Regions from separate parts of the Homo sapiens genome. Here regions 1 and 3 are each linked to region 2. Evidence: promoter capture Hi-C in 16 types of primary human blood cells and fetal thymus (Javierre and others, 2016). All regions are on one chromosome and are shown on one strand. Each heading gives the region's core, a stretch centred on a gene start or on the middle of the fragment in contact. The rest is flanking DNA. Distances are from core to core; before and after follow the strand shown. Region 1 has its middle 150 kb from the start of FKBP1C. Region 2 holds the start of SCAT8 (S-phase cancer associated transcript 8). Region 3 overlaps LGSN (lengsin, lens protein with glutamine synthetase domain).

What was found. Contacts are between HindIII fragments. The CHiCAGO score rates a contact against its expected background, and 5 or more counts as called.
Region 1: a contact is called between a fragment that was not itself captured here and the fragment with the promoter of SCAT8 in region 2, in 1 of 17 cell types (M2 macrophages). The highest score is 5.7, in M2 macrophages.
Region 3: a contact is called between a fragment that was not itself captured here and the fragment with the promoter of SCAT8 in region 2, in 1 of 17 cell types (M1 macrophages). The highest score is 5.0, in M1 macrophages.

The regions. Positions count from the first base shown.
Region 1 is chr6:63,062,846-63,067,510 of GRCh38, reverse strand. No RefSeq gene overlaps it. Among named protein-coding and RNA genes, the nearest start is that of FKBP1C, 150 kb to the left of the region's middle. The HindIII fragment of the contact is 2,402 bases long and covers 1,903-4,304 here.
Region 2 is chr6:63,803,948-63,808,487 of GRCh38, reverse strand. It overlaps SCAT8 (S-phase cancer associated transcript 8), which reads right to left and starts at 1,652. Exons shown (of 2, transcript NR_157848.1): 1 at 1,602-1,652. EYS (eyes shut homolog) reads left to right here. Exons shown (of 43, transcript NM_001142800.2): 37 at 2,116-2,298. The HindIII fragment of the contact is 5,141 bases long and covers 1-4,540 here.
Region 3 is chr6:63,276,473-63,280,539 of GRCh38, reverse strand. It overlaps LGSN (lengsin, lens protein with glutamine synthetase domain), which reads left to right. Exons shown (of 4, transcript NM_016571.3): 4 at 1-4,067. The coding sequence ends at 519. Among named protein-coding and RNA genes, the nearest start is that of LGSN, 41 kb to the left of the region's middle. The HindIII fragment of the contact is 2,822 bases long and covers 1,126-3,947 here.

The DNA of each region.
Region 1 (4,665 bases), core at 1,854-4,353, 740 kb after region 2:
GTGGGAATGTAAACTAGTAGAGACATTATGGAAAACAGTATGGAGATTTCTTAAAGAACGAAAAGTAGAACTACCATTTGATCCAGCAATCCCACTACTGGGTATCTATCCAGAAAAAAAGAAGTCATTATTCGAAAAAGATACTTGCACATGGATGTTTATAGCAGCACAATTCACAATTGCAAAATCGTGGAACCAATCCAAAAGCCAACCCATCAATCAACAAGTGGATAAAGAAACTGTGGTGTGTGTGTGTGTGTGTGTGTGTGTGTGTGTGTGTGTGTGTATAAAATGGAATACTACACAGCCATAAAAAGAATGAATTAACGACATTTGCAGTGACCTGGATGAGATTGGAGACTATTATTCTAAGTGATGTAACTCAGGAATAGAAAACCAAACATCATAAACATCATATGTTCTCACTGATACATGGGGGCTAAGCTATGAGGATGCAAAGGCATAAAGATGATACAATGGACTTTGGAGACTTGGGGGGAAGAGTGGGAGGGGGTAGAGGGATAAAAGACTACAAATATTTTCCAGTGTATACCGCTGGGGTTATGGGTGTACCAAAATATCACAAATCACCACTAAAGAGCTTACTCATGTAACCAAATACCATCTGTACCCCAATAACTTATGAAAAAAATGTAAAAAGATGTTAATTAATGTTACTGAATCTCACTCTTATCTGTAAAATAGGATTGAGAAGAATATTTCACATTAATTTATGTTGAAGATTATAAAAACAAAATTTTATGTGTATTGTAAAACATATAGTCTATTTTTTAAGTGGTAATTATTATTTGGCAGAATGTGGTAAAAGGAACACTTATAGGAAAAGTGGCTGTAGGTATTGGATGTTGTGATGTGCTATCCAACTTCCCTGCTTGGTGACGGTGGAACTCCTTCTTCTAGCTGCAGGGACTTTTGGCTGATAACAGATCAGAGCTAATCCTAGTGACTGATTGATAAGGATTTCAAAGGCCCAGCCCCCCTGCCTTAGTGTGGCATCTCTGAGGGCTGTCCTGGCTCCAGATGTCCCTATGTGGTTGGCTGAGGCCCCTGCTGCAACTGCATTGAAGTTCAACTTCTCCCTTTGCCCAATCTTTCTTTATTCTCTCTCTCATGAGTGCTGCTTCTGAGGATATTCCCCAAGAAACTTCCTATAACCAAATCTGTCTCAAGAGTCTGTGCCCAGGGCATTCACCTATGAGCATGTGACTTGAAGAATGCTGAAATTTCTCCCCCTGCTGGCCTACATGAATGTCAAATATTAGTGTCAACCGCTCATTCATTCAACACTCACTTCTCTTTGTTGACAACCTGCTACATGTCAAGCGCATCTTTTTCAGTTTTCTTAAACTAGAAAGTTCCTCATTCTAGTTAGAGAGTCCCTACTTTAAGAGTCCCTACTCTTAAATAGGGCCAAAACATTCTAACATGTTGACAGCAGTGAGAATTTCTGATTGTCTATTACAAGGTGTCAGCTAGTAGGAAACTTTCTGTCAGGTTTACTAGAAATCATTTGCTAAGTAAAAGAAATATACATTTGATTTATATTGAGAAAAAATAATGTAACAGCATGAATAAATTATGAAAATATGCAAGTATAACACAGGCAGTACATTAGAATAACAGATGCAAACTTGTTTTGTGAATTATGAGGTTATTCTCAAATTATGTGTGATTTTATTCTCAAGCTGTTCATTATATCTTTTCTCCTATTTCATTTTATTTGAAAGCATGTTTTTCTAAGTGGGAACTGGTTTATGCTCTAAAATTAGAGGCAGCAGGGTGAAATGAGAACATGAGTTTTAGTGTAAAAAAGATTTGGGGCTGAATTCATTTACCATTTTATAATTGTGAACTTGGGGAAATTACCTTGTTTTTGAAGCTTGGCTTTCTTGTAAGTTCAATGAGGATACTAATACCTACTCAGTAGGATTTTAAGATAATTAAACAAAAGTATATGTGTAGAAAGAACAATGTCACTTTAAAAGAATTCAATGAATAAAGATAATTATTGTTATTATCATAGTATCTTGTTCATATACGATGCTCATCATTTGATAAACTTCATTACACAATTAAATGCATTACCAATACCTGGGAATTCAGGATTCCCAAATGATCATCTGAGAGGTCACATAACAGAAAATTCTCATGTAGACCAACTAATTCAATACTGTGAGAATTAAATGAGTTGATATAAGCACATGCCCAAAATCAGCTTTTTATGGTGCTTAATGAGTATGTCCTTTAAATAGTACTTTGTTAAACACATAGTTGCTTAAATATTTCTTGTTCTAAATAAACATTTTGTTCTATTGTTAAAATTATTGGTCTGCTTTCAGTTACAATAGCGTGGGTCTTACAACTCTTATCTGTTTACAAGGAAGGCAAATTTTCTAAAAAATTGTTCTAACTTGGTGCCAGATAAGTGAACTATGTTTATGTCTATGTATTGAAAACAAAACAATAAAAATAAAATAGAAAAATTATTGAACATAACTTTGACGAAAATAGAACTTTAAAAGAATTGTAGTTCGTACATTTTTCTGACTTCTACATCAACTAATACTGTATTTGAGTTTTCTAATACGGAAAAGCTATCTTGAATATACCTAAGATGGATCTAGACCAAATGCTTCAATGTAGACCAAAAGTGAGGCTCAGTTCATTTTGAAGGTGCCAGATGAAAAAAAATAGATTTCTTTTTAGTGTTCTTCCTACCTTGGGAGTTTTGAGATATTTTCTAGAATGCTATTTCTAGTAAATACAAGGGAAAGACCTTGGTGCACTTTGATAGTGCCATGCTAGTCACAGTTCTGAACTAAAAACTTAGATATGGCATCATGCCAGGACCACCTTGAAATATATGACAAATGCATTAGCTTGGAGCAAGAGAGATTCATATATCTTAATTTTCTAATATTTTAAAACTCTGGTGTGGCATGGAAAATAAATGATTTCATAGCAATCCTGAGAATTTTTCATTTTACCTGGGTCACATTTGTAATAGTTGCCAAAGAAGAAAAAAAGTCTTTATAATATGTGTGTACATGCGGTTATGGCTTTAATTTCCAACCTTTGGATGACTATTACAATTCTGGTTAGGCTACAGCAAAGTAGCAGAATCATCATGGAGAGGATATCCCACTCTACACTTTGGGGGGTGTCATAAGGCAGGTGAGGGACCTGGAAAATGCCATGGTTCTTGTTATGGGGGAGCCTGTGTCATAAAATGACAGTGAGAGCCACAACAGGAATCCCATGTGAGTACAGCTAATATAGAATTTGTCTACTTGTGGCAATGGCTTCCTTTAGTAAGGTCAAATTCACAGAAAAGAAAAGCAAATGTGAATCTTGCATCTTTGTTATAAGTGTTATAGCTAGTTAGCTGTGCTCCTTTAGGCAAGTCACTTTAAGTATTCATGACTGCTCTACCAAGGGCGGGGGCATAATATAGTTAGAAGGACGTTGAAAAACATAAAGTGCCACATAAACCTAAGTTATTGCCATTTATAATTTAATTCATTTTTAGAAACTTTTAAATGTCAAAGATATTTACATGTTTAATTTTCTTCTAACATAGTGTTGAGAATACCATTTCCAAGGTAGAGGCAGAAGAGAGTTTCCTTTCTGATCCTAGAAATCTTTTTCATGAATTGCTAATGGAGATGCTATCAGAGAGGCTGTATGACTGGTTCCAAAGTTTTTTTGTTTTGTTTTGTTTTTCAACTTTTATTTTAAGTTCTGGGGTACATGTGCAGAATATACAGGTTTGTTACATAGGTAAACGTGTGGGTCCAGGCATTGGGTAAATACACCCCATTCCTTGTGGGAGAAATTGGCCAAAACAAAGGGACTACAGGCCCCATGTGAGTTAGAAATCCAGCAGGGCAGTCAAATCTTAAAGCTCCAAAATGATCTCCTTTGACCCCAGGTCTCACATCCAGGTCATACTGATACAAAAAGTGGGCTCCCATGGTCTTGAGCAGCTCCACCACTGTGGCTTTGCGGGGTACAGCCCGCCTCATGGCTGCTTTAATGGGCTGGTTGGTATTGGGTGCTTGTGGCTTTTCCAGATGCACACTGCAAGCTGTTGGTGGATCTGCCATTCTAGGGTCTAGAGGATGGTGGCCCTCTTCTCACAGCTCCATTAGGCAGTCCCCATTAGGGCACTTCTCACAGCTCCATTAGGCAGTGGGGACTCTGTGGGGGCTCCAGCCCCACATTTCCCTTCTTCATGGGCATAGCGGAGATTCTCCTTGAGGGCTCTGCCCCTGCAGTAAGCTTTTGCCTGGACATTCAGGCCTTTCCATACATCCTCTGAAATCTAGGTGGAGGTTCCCACACCTCAGTTCTTGACTTCTGTGCACCAAAAGGCCCAACACCACATGGAAGCTACCAAGGCTTGGGGCTTTTAACTTCTGAAGCAATAGTCTGAGCTATATGTTGGCTCCTTTTAGCCATGGCTAGAGCAGCTGGGATGCAGTCTTGAGGGTGCACAGAGCAGGGAGTCCTTGACCCCGCCAGAAAATCATTTTTTCCTCCTAGACCTCCAGACCTGTAATGGGAGGGGCTGCCATGAAAGTCTGTGACATGCCTTGGGGACATTTTTCCCATTGTCTTGGTGATTAACATTTGACTCCTTAT
Region 2 (4,540 bases), core at 403-2,902:
AAGTTTGGTCCTCCAGCTCTCTGTCTAATCTATGATTCACACTTCATCAACAGAATAATATTTCTAAAAAGCAACTTTGATCATTGCCCAACTACTTTAGGATAATAAAGAAAATATATAGTTCTTCATGATTTGACCACTGTCTATCTTGTTTCATTTCCTTCCACTCTCACTTTTCTTCTTCATTCTAAAATTTGCAGACTTCATAAGTTCCCTGAGTATGACATGCTGTTTTGGTCTTCACACCCTAGAACATGCTGTTTCTTCTGCCTGAAAGTTCTTATACCAGGCCTCAACTTTCAGTCCAGTTCAGCTGAATAAATGTATTGACTTCACACTAATCCCTTGAGTGACTAGTGCTTTTTTATCTTTGTGTCACCAGCATCTAGCACAGGTTCTGACAGTAAAATACCATATATATGAGATACGTATTTGTCAATCTAGCCTAAATGTAACCTTTAGGTAGACTCAGTTGTAAATTATTAACAGGAAGAAATATTAAAAGCAAAAGATAGTCATTCCTTTTCTATTTTAGTATTAAATTTAACTGAATTCTATTTTCATAGTTTTTAATGCCAACATTGAATGATGGTCAGTATTTTTATTCTGTTTCAACTCCAGTACATTTCATTTCCCTCAATCACCCTCCCCATAGTACTACTGAAAGTGATATACCTGAGAGTGTTATTATCTCAGGGACACAAATTATAAAGTTTTCATTAGATTAAAAAATAAGTATAAGAAGCAATATGTCTCAAAAGTCCCTACTTCACATTCTGGTGAGTTTTGAGAAAATTACATTTAACCTATGCCACACATCCCAGGGAATAAACTGATAAGATTTTAATAAAATATCAAAACAAAGTATTCAGCTTCACACAAATATCTTAGTTTAATAGTCATAATAAACTGATAAGATTTTAATAAAATATCAAAACAAAGTATTCAGTTTATTCACACAAATATCTTAGTTTAATAGTCATATAAAACAAAGATATACAAGCCTTTGATAATAAGCATCATTTTTCCTAAATTATTTGCTGTATACACAATTATAAACAGACATAAGAAGCTCTTTTAAGTGTTACATACCAGAGTGAGTATATTTCTTAAGGCTTGTAAAAATTCTAATTTTACAGCTTCCCTGGAGTTCCAACATCTCTTGAGAAGGAAACAACATAAGCTCTTATTTCCTCAACCGAGCTGTCCCCAACCAATAAAAATAGATCCTAGGAACATCCCTTAATCTGGTGACATCATCCATAAAAGACAGGAATGGGGTGTCAAAATCCCCTTTCTATTTTCTGTTGTCCTCTTTGGGTAAGGAGATTTAAAAAACCAGTGGAGACTTATGAAGGAAACAGTACAATGAAAGAGAAGAGTTCGATACAAGAAGCAACCCTCAGTTAAATTCTATTTTGTTCACACTGGCCCTTGAACTTCATCTAATTTTACCATTTCCTGTTTTTAATAAATCTCCCTACACTTTCACACCAATTGAATTCCATGTTTTTATTACTTAAGAAGCATCTCAGCAAAGAAATAATGAACATTTCTTTTAGACAATTATTTTTACTTAAAGAAAAGCTCTGGTCACTCACCAATGATGATAGAAAACTGACCGATTTCCTTCCTATTTCTTGACTTTCCTAGCCCTGACCTGGGGCTTTGGCTCAGATAAAGGTGCAGGATTAGAAAAGCACAGTTTGTTCAAAGGTGTGAGCTCCTCTCTAAGTCATATCCAGGTTTTGGATGCCAAATCATGTTTACGAGGCACCTGAGTAAATACTTTGTTTGGCTGCCAGTAATCTTTTCTATTTCTAAAATTAAGTTTCAAAATATAGGGGTTTGCTTTTTAAGTAAATTATCCATTATGTAGAAAGAGTATGCTAGTGAAAGGATTATATAGAAGATCTCAAAACACTGCATTTCCTTTGTTCTGGTTTTGAAATTTCCTGTTGAGTCACTTAGTTGCTCAATGCTGAAGGGCACTAAAGTATAATTAATGTAATAGTAAACAGACTATCTGGCCAGATGCATCAGCAAAACGTAACCCTCACTTTACAAATACATGTACAGGTTTATTTTAACTGTTTGGTTTGGGTTTTTTCACAGCTATTAATATTACTCAGCCAAGGTTCAGTGGCACAGATGCCTTTGGATACACCTCATTCCTGGCTTATTCACGGATCTCAGACATCAGCTTCCATTATGAATTCCACCTGAAGTTTCAGCTGGCAAACAACCACTCAGCACTGCAAAATAACTTGATATTTTTTACTGGACAGAAAGGCCATGGTAAGATTAACTGAACCCTCTAGGACTTGCCTCGCTCCTTTAAGAATACTTTAGAGATTCCTCAGGGACACTCTAATTGGCTGTGGTAAAAAAAAGACCTTTGCCTAGATGCAGCCTCCTCCTGTTTTCTGCCTTGAGCATGTTCGCTGTAGTCCAAAGTACTTAGCAGTTCCCTGATCCTTTCTGAAGCTCTACTTTGCATCAGGGCTACTGTATTAGTCAGTTTTCATGCTGCTGTAAAGAACTGCCAGAGACTGGGTAATTTACAAAGGAAAGAAGTTTAATTGACTCACTGTTCAGCATGGCTGGGGAGGCCTCCGGAAATTTACAAGCATGGTGGAAGGGGAAGAGGAAGCAGAGTACTTTCTTCACAAGGCAGCAGGAAGACGTGCCTAGTAAAGGGGAGAATTTCTCCTTATAAAACCATCAGATCTCCTGAGAACTCACTCACTATCACGAGAACGCATGAGGAAAACCACCCCCATGATTTAATTACCTCCACCTGGTCTCTCCCTTGACACCTGGGGATTATGGGGATTACAATTCAAGATGAGGTTTGCGTGGGAACACAAAACCTAACCATATCAGCTACCTTTCATAATCAAAAGAAAAAATTCCTACAGGCAAACATGAGGACAGGGAAGGTGACCAAGTCACATGGGAAGTAAGTTTATTGATTTGTCCTTTCCTCTGTTTCTTTCTGTTTCCATGTCTGAAGAGAGAAGGGAAATTCTCATTTTTCCATGTGTTATAAAATGGAAATGGTTGTTGCCCTCAAAGAAAACCATTCTAAATTAAAGGAGCAAGAAATTAAGAAAGTACTCAGCCTGTAACAAAGTACTCTAGTGCCCTGGAATTGGTGGGAAATCAACTTATAACTTACATTTGTCTCTCTTAAGTAGAAACTAGTTATGCATGTGCTAAGTCAAGGAAAATTACCTATGTTTTACTTTTAAGTCTGCAATCAACAGTTAAGCAATTAATCACCTAACTTCTCTGAGTTCAGTGTTTTCATCTGTGAGATCAACATATTGTAACAGAAAAAGACCTTTCTCTCAGCTGTCAGTGGTTCTACGGTGCTAGGGTAAATAACATATTCTGTTTTTTTCAACTCAATCAGTGACTGTCTCTTAATACCAAACACTCTTTTCTGTATCAGCATATGTCTGAAAGGAGCCTACACCCCAAATGAAATGTGGTATTTCAGACTCCCACCATGTCTGCTAGGATGGGGTACTCTATCATGTAAAGTACTATTCATTCTACCTCCAAAATTTGTTTGAATCTCTTCCCCATCCCTATGCTGAAACCTCATGACCTCTTCCTGACTGGTCTCCCTACTGATTTCCTGCCTGCAATTAATTATCCACATTGTAATAAGAGTTAGCCTCTTAAAAGGTTTATTAGATCATGTCTGAACCTTGTTTAAAACCCATCTGTGGCTTTTTACTGCACTTAGAATGCAATCCAAACCTCCTTATCATGTTCTCAAAGGGCCTTCAGGATCAGATCCCAGTCTGCATCTCTGAACACAACCAGGCCACTCTCACTATCTCTGTGCTTTTCTCCTACAGCTCTTCTTCCAGTGCCTTAACCACCAAGTGCTTTCCTGTCTCAGAGGTTTGGTGCATGCTTTTTCCTCAGCCTTGACAGGAAATAGCTATCATAGTGGTCAAGGGAGCAGGCTCTAGAGACTGGTGATGTAGACATGAATCAGTCTCCACCATGTGCAAATTATGTGTCAAGTTACTTAATGTCTTTGTGCCTCTATTTTCTAACCTATCAAATGAGTATAGTAACAGTGTATTTCCTTACAGCGTTGTGAGGAATAACGAACTTAATACATGGGAAGCTCTTAAAATATTGTTGGACTCGGCCAGGCGCGGTGACTCACGCCTGTAATCCCAGCACTTTGGGAGGCCAAGGTGGGTGGATCACCTGAGGTCAGGAGTTTGAGAGCAGCCTGACCAACATGGAGAAACCCCGTCTCTACTAAAAATACAAAATTAGCCAGGCATGGTGGTGCACACCTGTAATCCTAGCTACTTGGGAGGCTGAGGCATGAGAATCGCTTGAACCCAGGAGGCGGAGGTTGCAGTGAGCCGAGATTGCAGTGTTGCACTCCAGCCTGGGCAACAAGAGCAAAACTCTGTCTCAAGAAAAAGAAAAAGAAAAAAAATCATTGTACTCAATAAACACGGTAGTGTATCTTTTCTCAAAAGGGCCTTCTGTAGCCACCTTC
Region 3 (4,067 bases), core at 1,287-3,786, 530 kb after region 2:
ACGATCACTGGGAAAAAATGGTTGGCAGGACTCTTGAAGCACTCTGCTGCGCTCAGCTGCCTGATGGCGCCTTCTGTTAGCTGCCGAAAGCGTTATTCCAAGGACAGGAAAGACCTGAAGAAGAGTGTGCCTACAACATGGGGATACAATGACAACAGCTGTATATTTAATATCAAATGTCATGGAGAGAAAGGCACCCGGATAGAAAATAAACTAGGCTCAGCAACAGCAAACCCTTACTTGGTGCTGGCTGCAACTGTTGCTGCCGGCTTAGATGGACTTCATAGCAGTAATGAGGTCTTGGCTGGTCCAGATGAGAGCACAGACTTTTACCAAGTGGAACCTTCTGAGATCCCTTTAAAACTAGAAGATGCCCTTGTGGCACTGGAAGAAGATCAATGCCTGAGACAGGCTCTAGGAGAAACCTTTATTCGATATTTTGTTGCCATGAAGAAATATGAGTTGGAGAATGAAGAAATAGCTGCAGAGAGAAATAAATTCTTAGAGTATTTTATTTAGAATAGAGCTCACAACTACTCCTTTAGACATGTAATTGTTACTTAAAGCTAATCTACCAAAACAAAAAGACTGAACTTTTGTAATTAACAACAGCAACAATAACAAGATTACGAATGCTTTTGACTTTTTTTTTTGTCCATGGAATATTTGACAGATGAAGTAGGACTGCTGAGAAGATTCTGATAACAGAAACAAACAACAAAGTTGTGGTGAAGCTATAATATGCAAACTTACCAGATCTTGTCAGTCATTTCCTATGTGTATGTTGACCTGGATAAGAATATCCAATTTTGGGTGGCAATAAATATATTCGCACATTAAGAAAAAAAAGACTTAAGCATTAGAAAGCAAAATTTAAATGACTAAAAAAGAAAAAAAAGAAAAGGAGAAAAAATTTTAATGGTACACATAGGTTATGATTTCCAGGGAGACAAATATACTAATATAGTCTCGCTAATCAAATAATATTGTGAATCCAGGTTGTATGCACCATTATGGTCTTTCTAAACAAGTTAAATAAACTTTTGCCAAAATATAATGACAGGTAGGCAGTTTTCCCCTAAGTCTCTTCTCTTTTCACCCTTCTCCACTAGCTCCTGAAAAGCTTATGAACTTCAAGGTTATAATGTCCTCAAGAAACAAATCCCTAAGGAATAGAATTGGAGCTGAGAACAACGAGGTCAGATTTTAAAAGTAGTTAAAGCCTTTCTTTTAACAATGCCTCATATAGAAGTTCAATACACAAAGTATAGATAGAAAGATGTTTGTGTGTGAGGGTAGGTGGGCTCTGTCTACTCTGCTTCATTCTTTGAAACTAGATGTTCCTCTGAAACCTCTAGTGCTCTGTGGAGTGTGAGAACAACTGCCTGGCTAGCCAGGGCTATGTTTGGAGTTTAAGTTTGTTATTCAAATTACTGAATCTGCTGCTCACAGAGGTTGGTACCTCCCCAGAGAATATTACCTGTTCCAGGCCTTTGTTTGAATGAGATAATATTGTAACTATCACAAAAGTTTAGCTGCTTTTGGGAAGAAGTCCAAAATCCACTTACTAGCAAATGAAACATTATTCTACTGCTTAGGATCAAACAGCAGATTTTATGTTCAATTAAAACTGACTGTAGTCTCAATTTAGATAGCAATTGCACAAGCAGAGGATTAGAATTTGGCTCAGATCCTCTTATTAAAATTCATATTACTCAGTAGCTTAAATAGTGAAAGTCAGTCTATCCTTCACTAATTACTCCCTTCTTTTTTCCTTTGAGCAGGAGAAGTGTGTTTGGATACATAAGAAGAAAGTTCCCAGCACTTTGGGAGGCCAAGGCAGGAGGATTGCTTGAGGCCAGGAGTTTGAGTCCAGCCTGGACCACATAGTGAGACCCCTGTTTCTACAAAAAAAAAAAAAAAAATGCCTCGCATGGTGGCACATGCCTGTAGTCCCAGCTACGTGGGAGGCTGAGAAGGGAGGATCGCTTGAGCCTGGGAGTTTCAGGCTGCAGTGAGCCATAATCACACCACTGCACTCCAGCTTGGGTGACAGAGTGAGACACTGTCTTAAAAAAAAGAGAAGAATAAAATTCATGGATGCATATGGGGTAGAGAGAAAGATAGTGTAGGGTAGCTGGGGGAAGGAAGGGAACCTGTCCTGAAACCTCCAGAATGAAATCCCACACATTACATCATGGGAGGGATAAGGAAGACTCTCATGCCAATTTTCTAGCTGTCTGCTAGAAAATTCCCCTCTGTTCATTTTCCCCTCTGTTCTCAGTAATAAAACCTCAATATGTTCTTTGAAAGCAATGAAAAATGAAATGATATTTCTGAGCCTTCATTAAGGTTGGATGTGGTCATGTTATTAGGTTCAGTGCAAAGAGGTGAAAGTAGAAGTGTTGCATATAAGTTCTTTAGGACATTTTCTTTTCTTTTCTTGTATTTTTTTTTTTTTTCCGAGATGGAGTCTCGCTTTGTCACCCAGGCTGAAGTGCAATGTGGGGGGGTCTTGGCTCACTGCAACCTCTGCCCCCTGGGTTCAAGTAATTCTCCTGCCTCAGCCTCCCAAGTAGCTGGGATCCCAGGTGCCTGCTACCATGCCTGGCCTTTTAGTAGAGATGGGGTTTCACCATATTGGCCAGTCTGGTCTTGAACTCCTGAACTCAGGTGATCAGCCTGCCTTGGCCTCCCAAAGTGCTAGGATTACAGGCATGAGCCACCATGCCCTACCACACTTTAGAACATTTTTTTAAATGACGGATGCTGTGTGCTCTGCCCTTTCTTTCTCTTGCTGCCTTCACCCTTCCTGCTGAGTGGCCTACAGATAATGTGGCTAGGATTATGTCCTTGGGAAGGGAGGTTTGCTCCACAGGGTACAGTAATAAGGTGGAATCTCTGCTTTGTAGAGCAGTTTGACTTGCCTACATCCAGATGTTTACCTGAGAGAGAACCAAACTTCTATCTTCTTTAAGCCACAATGATTTTGATTCTTTGTTAGTTGCAATGAAATTTATTTTCTCTTTTCCATGTGTGTGTTGTATGTGTGTTTGTGTGTGAGTGTGTGCATATGAGTGGGGAATTTGAGGGATTTGGGGATGAAAGAACAAAGGTATAAGAACCAGTGAAAGACGACTTCCTCAATATTCCCACTTCTAGAGAGGATAATCTGAGTTAATCAAAGGGATCCACACATCCAAAAAATGGGATTGGCTCTAACCCATCCCTATAAAGTGGCATATCCCTTTATAGTCCACGGGCCTTAATGAAACATGTCTAATGCATTGACTTCATTTTACCATAATGAGTAAAGATGCTGTAAAAAGTCTGATAATCACAGTGTTTGAAGCCGTTTTTTCCCCTTTCGCATTATTAGCATAACTTAAAAACACAGTACTCAGGATGCCATGTGAAGGAATTATATAACTAGGAATATTATCTTCAGTATTAAGTGTACAGTCGTGAGTCAAAGAAAATATTCAGCCATAGATTACAAATCAGTTGATAACGTAAGTTGGTGTGGCAGTTTCCACCAAGATTTCAGTTAGGTGTGTGCTGATGTATATTCTTGTTCTTTAAGGCAACCCAAAAAGAGGCATTGGCCAGCAGAGTTCAGGGCCAAAGACAAATTGGGGTAGGTACATGTAAAAATCAGTTATCTATTTTTCTATTTCTTTCATCTGTTCATAGGCTTTCTATTGTTGAAAGGACTTTCTGCTGATGCTTCTACCTTCTTGGTCTGGGTTAAGAGGGTCAGACATTCATTCAGCAGCACTTATTGAGCACCATTTGTGTGCTAAGCCTTCAGCTGGGAGCCATCATACTAGGGGAGACCAAAACAAAGATGAGCAGACAATGAAAGAGTTTTGGATCTGTGTATCTTAAGCAGAACATAAATAATTTTTTTTGTAGACCTAATGCTGAAAAAAGCTATTTGGAAAGCTTCTTTATGGCTCGAAAAGGGTGCCTTATAAATAGCTTTACAAAAATTGCTTTCTTATTTTCATTTACTATAATTGTTCTAATCAAAGCTTAGGGGAAAAATGTGATTACTGAATTTAAAG